3 separate regions of the Homo sapiens genome follow, and regions 1 and 3 are each linked to region 2. Evidence: promoter capture Hi-C in 16 types of primary human blood cells and fetal thymus (Javierre and others, 2016). All regions are on one chromosome and are shown on one strand. Each heading gives the region's core, a stretch centred on a gene start or on the middle of the fragment in contact. The rest is flanking DNA. Distances are from core to core; before and after follow the strand shown. Region 1 holds the start of NCOA3 (nuclear receptor coactivator 3). Region 2 holds the start of PARD6B (par-6 family cell polarity regulator beta). Region 3 holds the start of ZMYND8 (zinc finger MYND-type containing 8).

The links. Contacts are between HindIII fragments. The CHiCAGO score rates a contact against its expected background, and 5 or more counts as called.
Region 1: a contact is called between the fragment with the promoter of NCOA3 here and the fragment with the promoter of PARD6B in region 2, in 1 of 17 cell types (fetal thymus). The highest score is 6.9, in fetal thymus.
Region 3: the fragment with the promoter of ZMYND8 here is called in contact with the fragment with the promoter of PARD6B in region 2 in 1 of 17 cell types (activated CD4 T cells); the score reaches 5.3 in activated CD4 T cells.

What each region holds. Positions count from the first base shown.
Region 1 is chr20:47,500,530-47,504,578 of GRCh38, forward strand. It overlaps NCOA3 (nuclear receptor coactivator 3), which reads left to right and starts at 1,358. Exons shown (of 23, transcript NM_181659.3): 1 at 1,358-1,490. RefSeq lists a cis regulatory region at 274-346 and a silencer at 1,598-1,717. The HindIII fragment of the contact is 2,001 bases long and covers 689-2,689 here.
Region 2 is chr20:50,729,453-50,733,690 of GRCh38, forward strand. It overlaps PARD6B (par-6 family cell polarity regulator beta), which reads left to right and starts at 2,128. Exons shown (of 3, transcript NM_032521.3): 1 at 2,128-2,400. The coding sequence starts at 2,335. RefSeq lists enhancers at 1-278, 1,231-1,280 and silencers at 1,471-1,680, 1,781-2,570. The HindIII fragment of the contact is 2,238 bases long and covers 1,313-3,550 here.
Region 3 is chr20:47,354,013-47,358,535 of GRCh38, forward strand. It overlaps ZMYND8 (zinc finger MYND-type containing 8), which reads right to left and starts at 2,687. Exons shown (of 23, transcript NM_001281775.3): 1 at 2,645-2,687. The coding sequence starts at 2,658. LOC101927377 (a long non-coding RNA gene) reads left to right here. Exons shown (of 2, transcript NR_134501.1): 2 at 1-621. RefSeq lists enhancers at 2,498-2,667, 2,511-3,118, 2,653-2,947, 3,698-4,047, 3,727-4,332 and 3 more. The HindIII fragment of the contact is 2,834 bases long and covers 2,349-4,523 here.

The DNA of each region.
Region 1 (4,049 bases), core at 108-2,607, 3.2 Mb before region 2:
AGTTAGGGAAAGCCTCACTGAATAAGTGACATTTGGACAATGACCATGGGGAGATTAGGGAATGGGTTATTTGAATTTTCTGGGAAAATACTGTTCTAGGCAGAGGAAATAGCAAGTGCACGATCTTTAAGGCCAGAGTGTGCTAAGCACGTTGGAGAGGCCGAGTCCATTGTAGCTGAGTTACAGAAGTGAGTGGAAGAGAAGAAGGTGATGAGTTTAGAGAGGGAAGGGCAGGGCAAGAGACGGGCTGTATGGGGCTTTGCAGGTTACTGCAAGAATTTTGCAGGAGGGACAGAGACTGACTTGGTTCTTACCAGGATTCCTCTGGCTGCTGTGTTGAGTATAGACTCTAAGAGGAAAGAGTGGAAGCAGGCAGAACACTGAGGAGGCTGTTGCAGTGGTCCAGGTGGGAAATGATGGTGCTGACCGTGGAGGTGGTAAGTGGTCAGATTATTCTATTTTATTTACACTCAACACATCTAATACTGACTCAATATTATCTAACATACAGTCCACATTGAAATTGCCCCCCAAATTCTTTTTACATAAAAAAATCATCCTGAATCCAATCAAGTCTCACCTATTGCTTTTGGTTTTCACCTCTTTCATGCTGTCATATTTTAAAAGACTCCAGGCTAGATGTTGTGTAGAATGTCCCACATTCTGAATTCGTTTATTTTTTCAAGTAAGCTTTTTGTGTGTATGTGGCAAGAATACGACAGAGGTAGCAATATGCTTTCCCCACTGCATCATATTAGGAGACACATAACAACAGTCCTGACCCATTATTGGTGGTGCTAAGTTCGATCACTTGGTAAGGGGGTGCCTGCCAGATCTTTCCATTGTAAAGCAAGCTGTTCTTTATTGTAAGTCATAAATACGCTGTGGGATGATACTTCGGGACTAAATATACCCTGAATATACTGCTGCCCAACAACATTTCACCCAGTGACTTTAGCAGCTAAGGAACAGCCTCGTGGCTTCCGACCTTGTGCCTCAGTTCGCTCATCTGAAAAATGAGGATGATCATGGTCCCTACCGGATGCTTGTTTTGAGGATCCGTGCTTGGCATACCAGAAACGCTCCACAAATGTTAGGTATTACTGGACGAAGGCAAATATGAAAAAAATTAAGGGCAGGGCTAGGACTGCATTCCGGTTCTCCGGATCCCGAGGGAGCTCCCAGTCGATGCTGGGCGAAAGCGGCCGCACGAGCCCACGTCGCCACGCCCTCCGCCGCGGAAGCCAGGGTGGGGGTCGCTGGAACCCTAGGCCGGCCGCGCAAGGCCCCCTGGGACCGGTAGTGCTGGGCGTGGCCTCGGGACTACATATCCCAGTGGCCCCCGTGCGGCGACTTTAGCTGCTGCTGTCTCAGCCGCTCCACAGCGACGGCAGCGGCTGCGGCTTAGTCGGTGGCGGCCGGCGGCGGCTGCGGGCTGAGCGGCGAGTTTCCGATTTAAAGCTGAGCTGCGAGGAAAATGGCGGCGGGAGGTGAGTGGAGATAAAGGAGGAGGCGGTGGCGGGCGAGGGGGTGGAGTGCGAGGCGGAGGGAAGAGGGGCGAGTTCCCCAGGCTGCGAGAGCCAGCGGCTTCAGATCTGCCAAGGCACTGAGGGGCGCGCCGGCCGGGGGACGCGCTGAGGTAGTTTCGGGGTGTCGGGGCCGCGCCGCTTCCCCTCAGCCCGGGGGGCGGCCCGCGGCGGTAGGAGCTGAGACGAAGCTGGGTGGCAGTCCGCTTGGGGATCCGAGGGGGTCCCCGCGCGGAGGGGTCACCCGAGGAGTTTGCGGGGGGACTGCAGGGGCCCACTTTCCCCTTCTGTCCCTAAAGTTTTTTCTTCCTCTTGCCTCCCCCAGCCCTTTTGAAAGCTCCCCGCGTCGTCCTCCTGCTGCCCCGGCTCCTTAGCAGCTTCTGGGACGCACGGGAGGGAAAAGCCGCGGGGACCCCCCCCACCCCAGCCTCCCAGCCGGGTGAGATTTGGTTGCTGTGTTTCCTCCTCACTTGGGCATTTAAAAAATATTTTAACACGAATTGTCCGCGGAATTTTCATGTTGGGCTCGGGTAGCTTCTTAGTTTTCTCGGTAAAAAGGCGTTTTACTACCTCTGGTGTGAAGGCTGGGAAATGGCAAGTGGGAAGTTGGTTGATAAAATTAGGAGTTTGGCTGTCTTTATTACTACTTTTTTTTTTTTTTTGCTCTCCCCATCTCTCATTTTATGAACATCGACCCAGTTCGTCATGGTTTAAATAAACTGCTTGTCTTGTACCTGCCTTAACAAAACTAGCCATGGGTCGTTGGGAGACTTAGTTGCTTCCTAGGCAGTTTGAGGGCATCTAGGGTGGAAAAGTTAACCGAGAGAGCGAGCATCTACCTCACTGGCAGGATCTGGGATTCCCAAATGGAATGACACGGAAGCTATGAGATTCTCTCGAAGTCGAAACTTTTTTCCCCCTCCCGAATGCGAAGACTTCCTTTTTGCAATATTTGAGCAGGGCTTCAAAACCAACCTGTTTTTGTTATTAAGCCTGTACGGTAAAGAAACAGGAAGGAGAGTACCAGCTGTCTTGCTGCAGTGGTTTTAAATGGAGTTGAATGAGATGCGTGAGAGTGGTAGTAGTATTGAGTAAGATTGCTGCATCTCTTTGATTTAAATGCCTGGCCTCGGATCCACCTAACTGATCCCTGGCTGCAAAAAAGCTTCAGTATTTGTTGCAGCAGGTTGTTGAGAAGGTGATTGGAGGAATAAAAATCTTAGGTCTTCAGCGAATGCTGCACAAACGAAAATGTTAATGGAAACCTGTAAGTTTGTGAATTGTTTGTTCTTGAAAATATTTTAAATGTATGCTCATTTAGAATATGGTTCTACCGAATGATATCCAATTGGAAAGGTACAAACACATTGAAAAGTGAATCTCTCTTTCACGCCAAACCCTACAGTTTCCCCTTCTCAGAGGCAAAGACTGTTACTGGTTTTTAGAATATCCTTGGTCTTTGGAATAATTATTTTAAGATTTTCATTTGAAACCACTTCTGTTGGATACCAAAAGCAGGGAAATAAAATGAACAGAAGAAACAGAAAATGTGGGAATACTGTTTTTGCTCTCTTAAAAAAAATGTTGATAGCTATTGGAAAAAGCTCTTCAGAACTTACTGCTTATGTCACCTTATCTATTAATACCGTTAAATAACAATCTGTGGGGCTTTAGGATAAAGAACTCTGCCAGGGTTCATTGTTTGTATGTACAATGAATCCTCTGCTTGTAACATGTAAAATGATATTGAACACTATAGCTCCTGTCACTAGAGGTTGCTTCAGGTTCTGCATTTCAATGAGCAGAAATCTAAATTGCCTGTGATCCTAAATTATAGGGGCATTTTATGTATAGATGGAAATGACTTAATTGTCCAATCAGCATTTGAAATAAGAGGCATATACCAGCTTTTGGCATATAGAAGATGGGGATTGTGGACTAAGCGGGAGGCTGTAATATTTCTAGAGCAGTTATAGGAAATATTTCTGCCATAAGATATTTAATTACAAAGGCTTTGAAAATGTACAACTTAAGCATCAATAGCGAGATTTATATTTTTATATTTTAGAATGGTTGTTTTAACAGCTTGCCAACACTAACAATTTGCTAAGGAAATTCAGTGATATTAGAGCTAGGTTATTAAAGATTATATTAAATAATTTAACTGTATTTTGAAAATGATTATGCTGTGCATTTCCTTCTCTGTATAAAAATTATTTCTAAAAAGTGCCACGCACCTCCCGAGCAAATAAAATAGAATTCAGTAAGGAGTGAAGTACTGTTGTACGTGAGACCCTTTTTCTAGGCGATATGCAAATAAAAAGTAGTTTAAAAATGGTTGCTTACTAATGTCTTCTTGACTGGTCTTTTGAAATAAGCTTTCTTGCAGGGACATTACATTAAAGATAAAAGCTAAGTGTGTCTTTTTTTTTTTTTTTTTTTTTTTTTAACGAATTCAGTTCTTTCTGCCGGGCTGCAGTGGCTCAGGCCTGTAATCCCAGCACTTTGGGAAGCCAAGGCTGG
Region 2 (4,238 bases), core at 878-3,377:
ATGTCATTTGTTCTCATCATTCCCATTGTCTCACGAGTATACAATGGAGTTTTCCAGAAGGGACAAGACATGTGATGACATCATCACTCTGATGACTGTTGGAATGCATGCTTGTGTACTCCCATGTTTTGGACACATCCGTTTTAATTCTAAGATAAATATTGAAAGACATTACACATAAACAAAGTACTTTGGGGTCCTCCATGATTTTTAATAGTGTAAAGGGGTCTTGAAAACAAAAAGGTTGGGAACTGCTGTGCTAGTCCAAACAGGGGAGTTACAGGCCCTGACATGCACTTTATTTCCGGCTGAACTTGAGTCACCTCCTATGTGCTTTCAAACAGGGGGTGGAGGCAGCTTGCTTATTTATTATACAGCTTGGATTGGTGTCCTTTCCACCTGTGCTGCCACAGGTGGCCAGAAAAACCTTAAATCCTCCCACAAAACGTCTGGTTACCTGAATCCTCCAGAGGGAAAAAAATGAGCTTCTCGCCTTTGAACCCAAGTGGGGCAAAGAGCCTGCAGAAGGGACACCCTCAGTGGCAGCACCCAGCAAAGACCCATCTGAGTACCCGCTGGGAGTCGGGTTCTGTGCCACTCAATGCCAGCAAAGCACAAGCCGTCCCTGCGCCTTCGGGAGCTTTCATTCTAGGCTGGTGGCAGATTACTCACAAAACTCAGATGCACACAAAAATGGGAAACCTGTAACTTGTAACAAGTGCTGGGCAACAGGGGTACAAGTGTTAGGAGGCCTCCGAGGTGGGCAGGGAGATGAGGGGAGGAAGGTACCCTAACCACTCTTCTTGCCAAATCTCAGGTTGGACCTTCCCCTCCACCTCCATTCCCCTGCCCCCTTCCTGGCTTGCAGGTTTCAACAGCTCTTGGATTCCCGGGTCCCACAGGGAGACCTTGGGACCTGGGAATCTCCTCCAGCCAAAAGCTTCAGTCTTCTCCTCTCCTCCCCATGACCCACAGGGTCTGTGTGAAGAGAGGCCGGGCTCTGGGACGTTCAGAGAGGAGGATTCAGCGTTTTGTTGCTCTGGGACACAGCTTGGTCACTCCGGGAAACGAACACAACCTAGAGGCTGTCATTTGTAGAAACAGCGAATGGCCAAGGAATGGCGGGAGGAGGGAAAAGGAAGACTTTTAAAGAAAAAAAAAAAAAGCCCTGAAAGACTGGACTAGAAATCCTCAGGGAGGCTGGGCCTGCAAGGAGCCTTCCCGCGCCTCAGCCCACTTTCCTTCCCTCTCGACCTGACGGACTTAAGGCGTGCAGAGTCTCTTCGGACAAAATGAAGCCAAGAGAGCCCTAAGCTTCTCCCCCAGCAACCGCTGCAGAGGCGGGAAAACTTGAATTTTGCAACCAAGAGTTGCAGCGGGACGCCTAAGCAACGATAAGGGGCGGTGGAGGGGCGTCGTTGGGGGCTGCAGCATCCCAAAGTGGAAGCGGGAAGGGGGCCCGGCTGGAACCGAATAGCCCCGCAGCGCCTCGGCAACCGGACGGGCGGCGCATCCAATCCCCTGGACCGTGCGTGTGACTGGCGCGCGCTAAGCGGCGCGAGCCCCGGCGGAGCCGGGCAACCAGGCGCGCGCTCGCGCGTGCGCAAAAGGCCCACCCAGCCGAGCCCTTCTTCAGGTGCGCTCGCGCTTCCGGCCGGCCTCCCCGCGTGCCTTCCCGGGGCGGAAACTCCAGCACCCGCGCATGCGCCTTCTGGCTCTCCGGCCTGAAGCGGGGCGGAGGGCCATGGCTTCAGGTGATCCCGCCCCTCCCTCGTAGCGCAGGACCAATCGTGCGGTGGTAGGCGGGGTTTTGAGGAGGCAGCCCGCCCACGCACCGCGCGAGGCGTGTATCGATTGGTTGGCGCCGCGGGCGCAGGTGCGCGCTTTCTATTGGGTGTGGGCGGAACGCGAGGGATTGCGGCATCTTCGGGGGCTGCAGGTGAGCGCGCGCACGCGCCGCGGCTGTGGTCCGCTCGGGTGCGCGCGCGCGGGCTCGCGGGGGAGGCGGCAGAGGGAGAGGTTGCGGCGCTTGTGGCCTCCGCTCCGCCCCCTCCTCTCCTCCAGCGCTGTCGCCGTCGCCGCCGGGGCCCGGAGGGAGGGAGCTGCTTCCCCGCCTGCCGCGCCACCAGTCCGACCCTCGGTCCCGCCGTGTGAGCAGCTGGTGGAGTGGAGCTCAGCGCGGACGCCGGAGCTGCGGCCGCCCCCTCTGCAGGTGCCTGTGAGGAGGCGCCCGGGCCGCAACCGCTTTCCGAGATCCCCAGTCGCGCACTCGCTCCCCGCGCTCCTGAGGGGCCGCCCGGCCGGAGGAGGCCGTCGCGGGGCTCGGCGTTCAGCATGAACCGCAGCCACCGGCACGGGGCGGGCAGCGGCTGCCTGGGCACTATGGAGGTGAAGAGCAAGGTGCGCGGGGCCCGGGCTGGGCGGAGCGGCGGGCCTGGGGGGCCGGGGCCTGGGAGAGGCCGGGCCAGGCTCGGAGCGCCGGGGGAGGCGACGGGCTGAGCTGCCCCGGGGTCTGGACGGTGCGGTCGGGAGACTGTGGGTAATAAACTTGCCGAGGAGGGGGTGGCGGGGGTCAGGGGGCGCTAGTGTCCGCCCCTGGCCCGGGCAGGAAGAAGACCTAGTCCAGCATTTAATCTCATTCCGTAAATCTCATTCCCGTGTTCACGGACGGGAGTAGGGGCCAAGGTATATCCAAGGATGGCGCACACTGAGTGAAATGCGAGGCTGCTCAAAAGGTGTAGGAGAATCCTGCCTGCTGGGCTGTGAGTAAAGGGCCCTGGACCACCCCGTTGTTCCCACTTTCTGTGGTTAAGGGGCGCATCGAGTGGCGAAGGAGAGAGCCCAGTGAACTAAACAGCCCTTTAAAAGTTCGCTTTGCTTCCTGCTGGCGCTCTTTCTAGCACTAACTTTGGTATGCATTTAATCTGTAAAATTAGTACTATCACCTTACGTTGGAGTAGCACTTTACAGTTTGACTCTAGATGCTCTTTTCATTCCATCCTGCTACCTACTCACATCAAGTGCTTTTCCCCTTGACCAACGGTATGCCAATCTGCTGATAATTACTTCGGTATTCACTGAATTTCTAAATCTCAAGGCTCAGTGAGCAGGGTAGTCTGTAGGGAGGGATTAGTTAGGGAATGCCTTCCAAAGGGGGTTTTGAGCTGGAATTTGAAGGTGATCGGCAGCCAAGGGAACACTTTCAGCAAGCGTTTCTTGAGTTGAAGAGTTAAAAGGAGCTTAGATAATCTAGCCCAATTCTCTGAGAAGACTGAGGCTTAGAAAGGTTATGACTTCCTCAAGCTGTTTTTTTGCAAAGCCTTCATGCCTTTTTAATAACTTCTAGACATTGCAGAATACAAAACAGGACACTGGCTGGGCCCTGAGAACATTTAAAATAGAATTGAGAAGGCCAAAACACAGAAAAGGAGAAAATTGAAAGTATATCAATTTCAAAAAAAAAAAGTAATGGAGCATCATAGATGGTAAGACTACTAAGGAGTATGTAAAATCAAGGAGTGATTTGAGTGAGGTACAGTGGAGTAAGGAAAGCTTCCTAGAGCCTCTAGGTAGAATAGTTTTATTGTCTAGGGTTGATAAGCAAAGTTCTGTAAGTTTCTGTAACTGAGAATCACATCGAGAAAATCGACATTCGTTTGTAACATCATTAAAAAATGTGATTTGAGTCTGGGCGCGGTGGCTCACGCCTGTAACCCCAGCACTTTGGGAGGCCGAGGCGGGTGGATCACCTGAGGTCAGGAGTGCCAGACCAGCCTGGCCAACATGATGAAACCCCATCTCTACTAAAAATACAAAAAATTTTTAGCCGGCCGTGGTGGCACATGCCTGTAATCCCAGCTACTTGAGAGGCTGAGGCAGGAGAATCGCTTGAATCCGGGAGGTGGAGGTTGCAGTGAGCCAAGTTTGCACCATTGCACTCCAGCCTGGGCAACAAGAGCAAAACTCCATCTCAAAAAACAAAACAAAACAAAAACAAAAACGGCTTGGCACTTACATGAGGATTGGCACTAGTTTCAGAATTAGTAAGAAAAGACGTGTAGTTACAGCAATTTAAGGAATGTGCATGTCCATGTGTCCTCTGTGCACAGCATAGCAAATTGAAGTGACTTGCTTGAGCTATAGCGTTAAGATGACCCAAAATACATAGCAGAACTTTTCCTTTAGCGGTATGGTGGCAGTAGAGGTTCCATGCCCAGTGGTTGAACCTTCTTATGGCA
Region 3 (4,523 bases), core at 1,437-3,936, 3.4 Mb before region 2:
TGCTCTGGGAGCCAGTACTGCCGTCCCTACCTAGTCCTGCTGCAATGCAGACATTTATTTTTTTCCCCCTTTCCTGAAACTGGAAAATAATGCTACTTTGAAAGCAATTAACTTTTTACAGACTCATGCTTGGTAGGGGTCACAGTACCAGAGGAAAAGTGGCTAGCTTGGTCCAGGGTTGGGAACTTGCTGGGGGCTGTACATTTGAAAACAGATCTTGGCTCTCCAAACCTGTGGGAGCCATTTTAATGCAAGCTTTTAGAGGACAAATGCCTTGCCCTTAAGTTCCCTTCCAGCCCAACAAACACAGTATTATGCAAACGTTGAAGGCACCAAACCAGGAGTCTTATGATTAGATATTGCTTCTAGGGAGGCCACAAGAACCTCGATATGTAATTTCCATTTACAGCAAGGAGATAAGAACAAAGAAAATAGCTGAGTGTCTGAACTTACTTGTTTGGGGCAGTGGCACTGTTCAGTTTTAAGTATATAACATCATTAACTGCCTGCAGTTTTACTCTAAGAAGCTAAGCTGGCCTGCCTTGCACAGACTTTTCTCAACTTAGAATGTGGTACGTTTCTGCTGATTAAATGAGCCTTTTTCCAATTCGGTGTCAGAAAGTGGGCTACTGGACACTCATTTGAAAGAAAAAAGATTACTGACTCCATAAAGTTGACATAACACAGCAATTGAATATATTTCCTGCATTTACGGTCATGTCGGATTGGTCTCCAAGCTGAAAATTTATGTACTGAACTTCTAGGGAAATTCTGAAGGTACTGCTAAACAAGACTCTACTTTTCCCACTTAACTTCTAGCTGCAGCCTTAAGTGGTCAAGGGAAATGTAAAAAGTGAGAAATCTTATGTGGGGCCAGCATGCATACAGATGTGTGGAGGAGACCTGAAAAAAGGCCAAAATGTGTTGGTCAGTGAGTCCTGAATCAAACCCAGTCTGGTGGTAGATGAGATTTTGCACTATACATAAGTCCTAAAACATGAGCACACTGACACCACCCCCCCAACACACACATACCACCACCACCACCAGCTTCTACACCACCAATGTTTTTAGGGCTCTGCACCTCTAAGAACAAGCAGTTTCATGACATTTCACAAGCACATCACCTACTCACAGTTTGAATATCCAAACAAACCCCATTAAAGGTCTAGAGTCAAGTCACAATGAACTGAACATTTCTCCCCTGACTCAGGGTAAACAGGAAGTATAATCTTCAATCCTAGCTGCAGGTTATCAGGAAAAACAGTGGATTCAAACAGTCACCTAAAATCAAGACACTCTTTAAAAAGCCCTTATTTTGTTCCTGCTAATGAAGCCCCCAACTCCTGTAGCCAAGACCCACTATTACAAACAGACCCCAAATGTTCGCAAAACTCTTCAAACATGGTCACAGAGGAAATGGATTGCTTTACTTACCCAACAAATGTTCAAGCAACCGTCTCATTTTTCCACAGTTAGGAAGAGAGAACAGGCTGGCAGATTTGGGACTTGATCAAAAAGGAAATTTTTTTAAACAGTTACATGGTATTATTAAAAACACACACAACAACAACAACACAACCCAACAACTGAATATGGAATGCTGTCATGAGCCACAGACATGATTTTATTTCCTCTACACTCCATGACACAGGAGAAGAGAGGAGGATACAATGTATAAAAGGGACAGGAAAATGAAAACAAGGATAAAAGGTAACATTAGTTCCTTGAAAATCATGCAAGAGTAGAAAGCTAAGGGATTCAGAATCCTTGCAGATTTTTTTTTTTTTTTTTTTTTGCAGGATGTTGTCCAAGATCTCTCCCCCCACCCCCCAGTCCCCATCCCTACTCCAAAAAACTTCCTCCAAAGCCTAGAAAACACTTTCAGAAACATTTGCTGGCTGTAGGCTGGCTTGCAGAACACTCTGTAGCAACCTAAGTCAGGAAAACAGGCTGAACAATGTAGTTTCAAGTGCAGAAGCTCTGTAGAATAAGAGAAGACCGTGTACAGACACCACCACCCACCTAGGCCCCAGGAGCTAGACTCTCCTTAGCACTGCTCTGCTGAGGGCACAATTCTTTTGCAAACACGCTCCTCTCTTGTCAAAACTTATCCAGCCTTCCCAGAACCTCTTTGGAGAGGCAAACTTGCCTGCTCTGCTGTCTGCCATGAGCTCTCCTTGGAGAGGAGCCTGTTTGCTTACCTTCCATTTTCTTCCCCCAGCAGGGCATGTGGCAAAAGAGAAGACAATAGTGCAGGGGTGGGAGGGGGGGAACTGCTCAGAGAGAGAGAGAGGGGAAGAGAGAGGGAAGAGGGAAAGAAAAAAAAAAAAAGAAGGAAAAAAAAAAGCTTCTTTTTTGGCATACCAGGATCTAGCTTCAAACTCTTCCAGAAACACCATGCCCTGGTGGAAGGAAAGGTGTGCCAGGCCCTTGCCAGTTTGCAAAATCAAGCTATGGCTAATGGCTACTGAGCCATGTGACCCAAGAAAGCAAAAAAATTCTCTCTAAACAGTTCCAAGTTAACATAAGTGCTCTGGGGGTGAGTGTGGCACGGCCAGCCACAGAGAAATCACACTGCTCGCCCACAATTCGGATGTCTCAGAGGGAGGGGGAAAAAAGATGGTTAAAAAGTCGAGCTTACCTCTGTGGATGCATTGTTAACACTGTGTAATGTCAATACTTATAAAACATGGAGGACAGGCTCCTAGTTCTCACAGAAAAAGGGTTTGGCACTTCGGCTGATGATCTGGCCGCCTAATAAAAGCTCATCCCCGATTGGCTGCCCCGGCAAATCGGAGTGTAAAGCCGCCCCGGATTGGCTGAAACACTTCCTGAGCGATTATCTTTGTGAGGCTCGGGTGAGCAAGAGCCATCCTGTGCATAGAAAAAGACAGGCTAAGCTAGGCCTTTTGCAGCAAGAAAAACTTGGGAAAGGGGCCCCCACACGCACTTCTCCTGCACCCTGGCTAGATTTCCCGGCACGGGCCAGCCAGGGCAGCCAGCCTGACCTGCTCCAGGAAAGCCTGAGGCCCGGAGGTCCCTGGGAAGGGAGTTTCTTGGAGTGGGCTGGAACGGCTCACCCTCACCTGCCCCCAGAGAAACGGCCCTTGTCCAGGGAGGAAGGCCAGCCTTTTTCTAGAACAGTCCAGCAGGGTGGCTCTCCAAGGGGAAGGGGAAGCTGGGGAGTGGGGAGTCCCGGGGAAACAGCCAAGGGGCCAGAAAAAGGGGCTTGAGGCAGGCCTCTGAGAAGCTGGGGGAAGCAGGCAGCCCGGGGGAGCCCCGAAAAATCAGCAGAGAGCAGCCCTGGCTTCTCAGAGGAGCGAGGAGTAGCTGCTGAGGGGAGGAGGGGAGCAGAGTGGTCAAGTTTGCATAGTCATTGTCCCCATGCCTCCTTGCAAGGCAGGCCAGGGAGCCGTGGGCCTCTCGCGCCCTGCTTAGCCAGTCCTGCAGGCAAAATCAACGTGGGTTCCTGTCGCCCTGCCACGATGCCAAGGGGGACCCCTCTCGGTCCTTACCCTAAGAAAAACCCAAAGCCCTCCTCGCAGGCCACATGCCTGGATCTACAAACTTCCCTTCCCTCCCGGCCCCTCCCCCGCGGCCGAGACCTGCTAAACCTGTCAGTTAAACACAAATCTGACTTCCGTATTAGCCTGCGATGCCTTCGGCTTCCTGCCTGTTAACCCTCTCTCGGACTCGGGGCCTGGCTGGGAAAAACTAGGCCTTGAGATCGCAGCGAAGGCCTGTGGAAAAATACCAGCTGCAGCTCTCCCGGCAGATGCAGAAAGAGAGAGAGAGAGCCGCTGTCTCTCAGCCTTTGCTTCCCAGGGAGGCGTGTACCTTGTGAATCCAGGGCACAGGCAGTGCCTCTCGGGCTGAGAAGCCATTTCAATCCAGAGGGAGACAGAAAGATGGCACGCTCAGCCCGGAAACAAGAGCCCCCATTATGCGTCAGGCCTACCCCCGTAGGTCAGCCCTTCCTGCCACAATCATCCCTGTATGTGTGTGCCTGGGGGAGTTGGGCCCTCCTCGGTGGGCAGACAAATCCCCTGGGCTTCCTAAGGATTCTTGCTTCCATTTATTTGCACAGAGAACGGCTTCTTTTCGTCCCCCAAGGCAGATGGAGCAGCGATTTCACACACAGCCCTCCATTTGGCAGCCCCCCCACCCCCCCATCTCTGGCACCGCTCCCCAGTAAAATATTAACTGGTTGTTCAGAGCTGCTTACAATTCTACCCACTTCAATTGCGTTAGGAGGTCTTTGCTGGTCTCCTCCCTAAAGCTGCCTTCGCAGTTGGTCTGTACCCAGAGATAGAAAAGGACCGTAAAATGTCCCCAGCTTTCTCGCTCTCTTTCCTTCTTCGGCATTTTAAATGACAAGGTGCTTAATTAACAGGATTTTTTAAAACAGCAACCTGGAACCACAGAAGCTAAATAAACACCATTCTTTAGAGGCTGGAGAAAGCGTCCAGAGTTAACGCAGCCATATGCCAGGAGGCATAACTCCGGAGCAATAAAGTCTC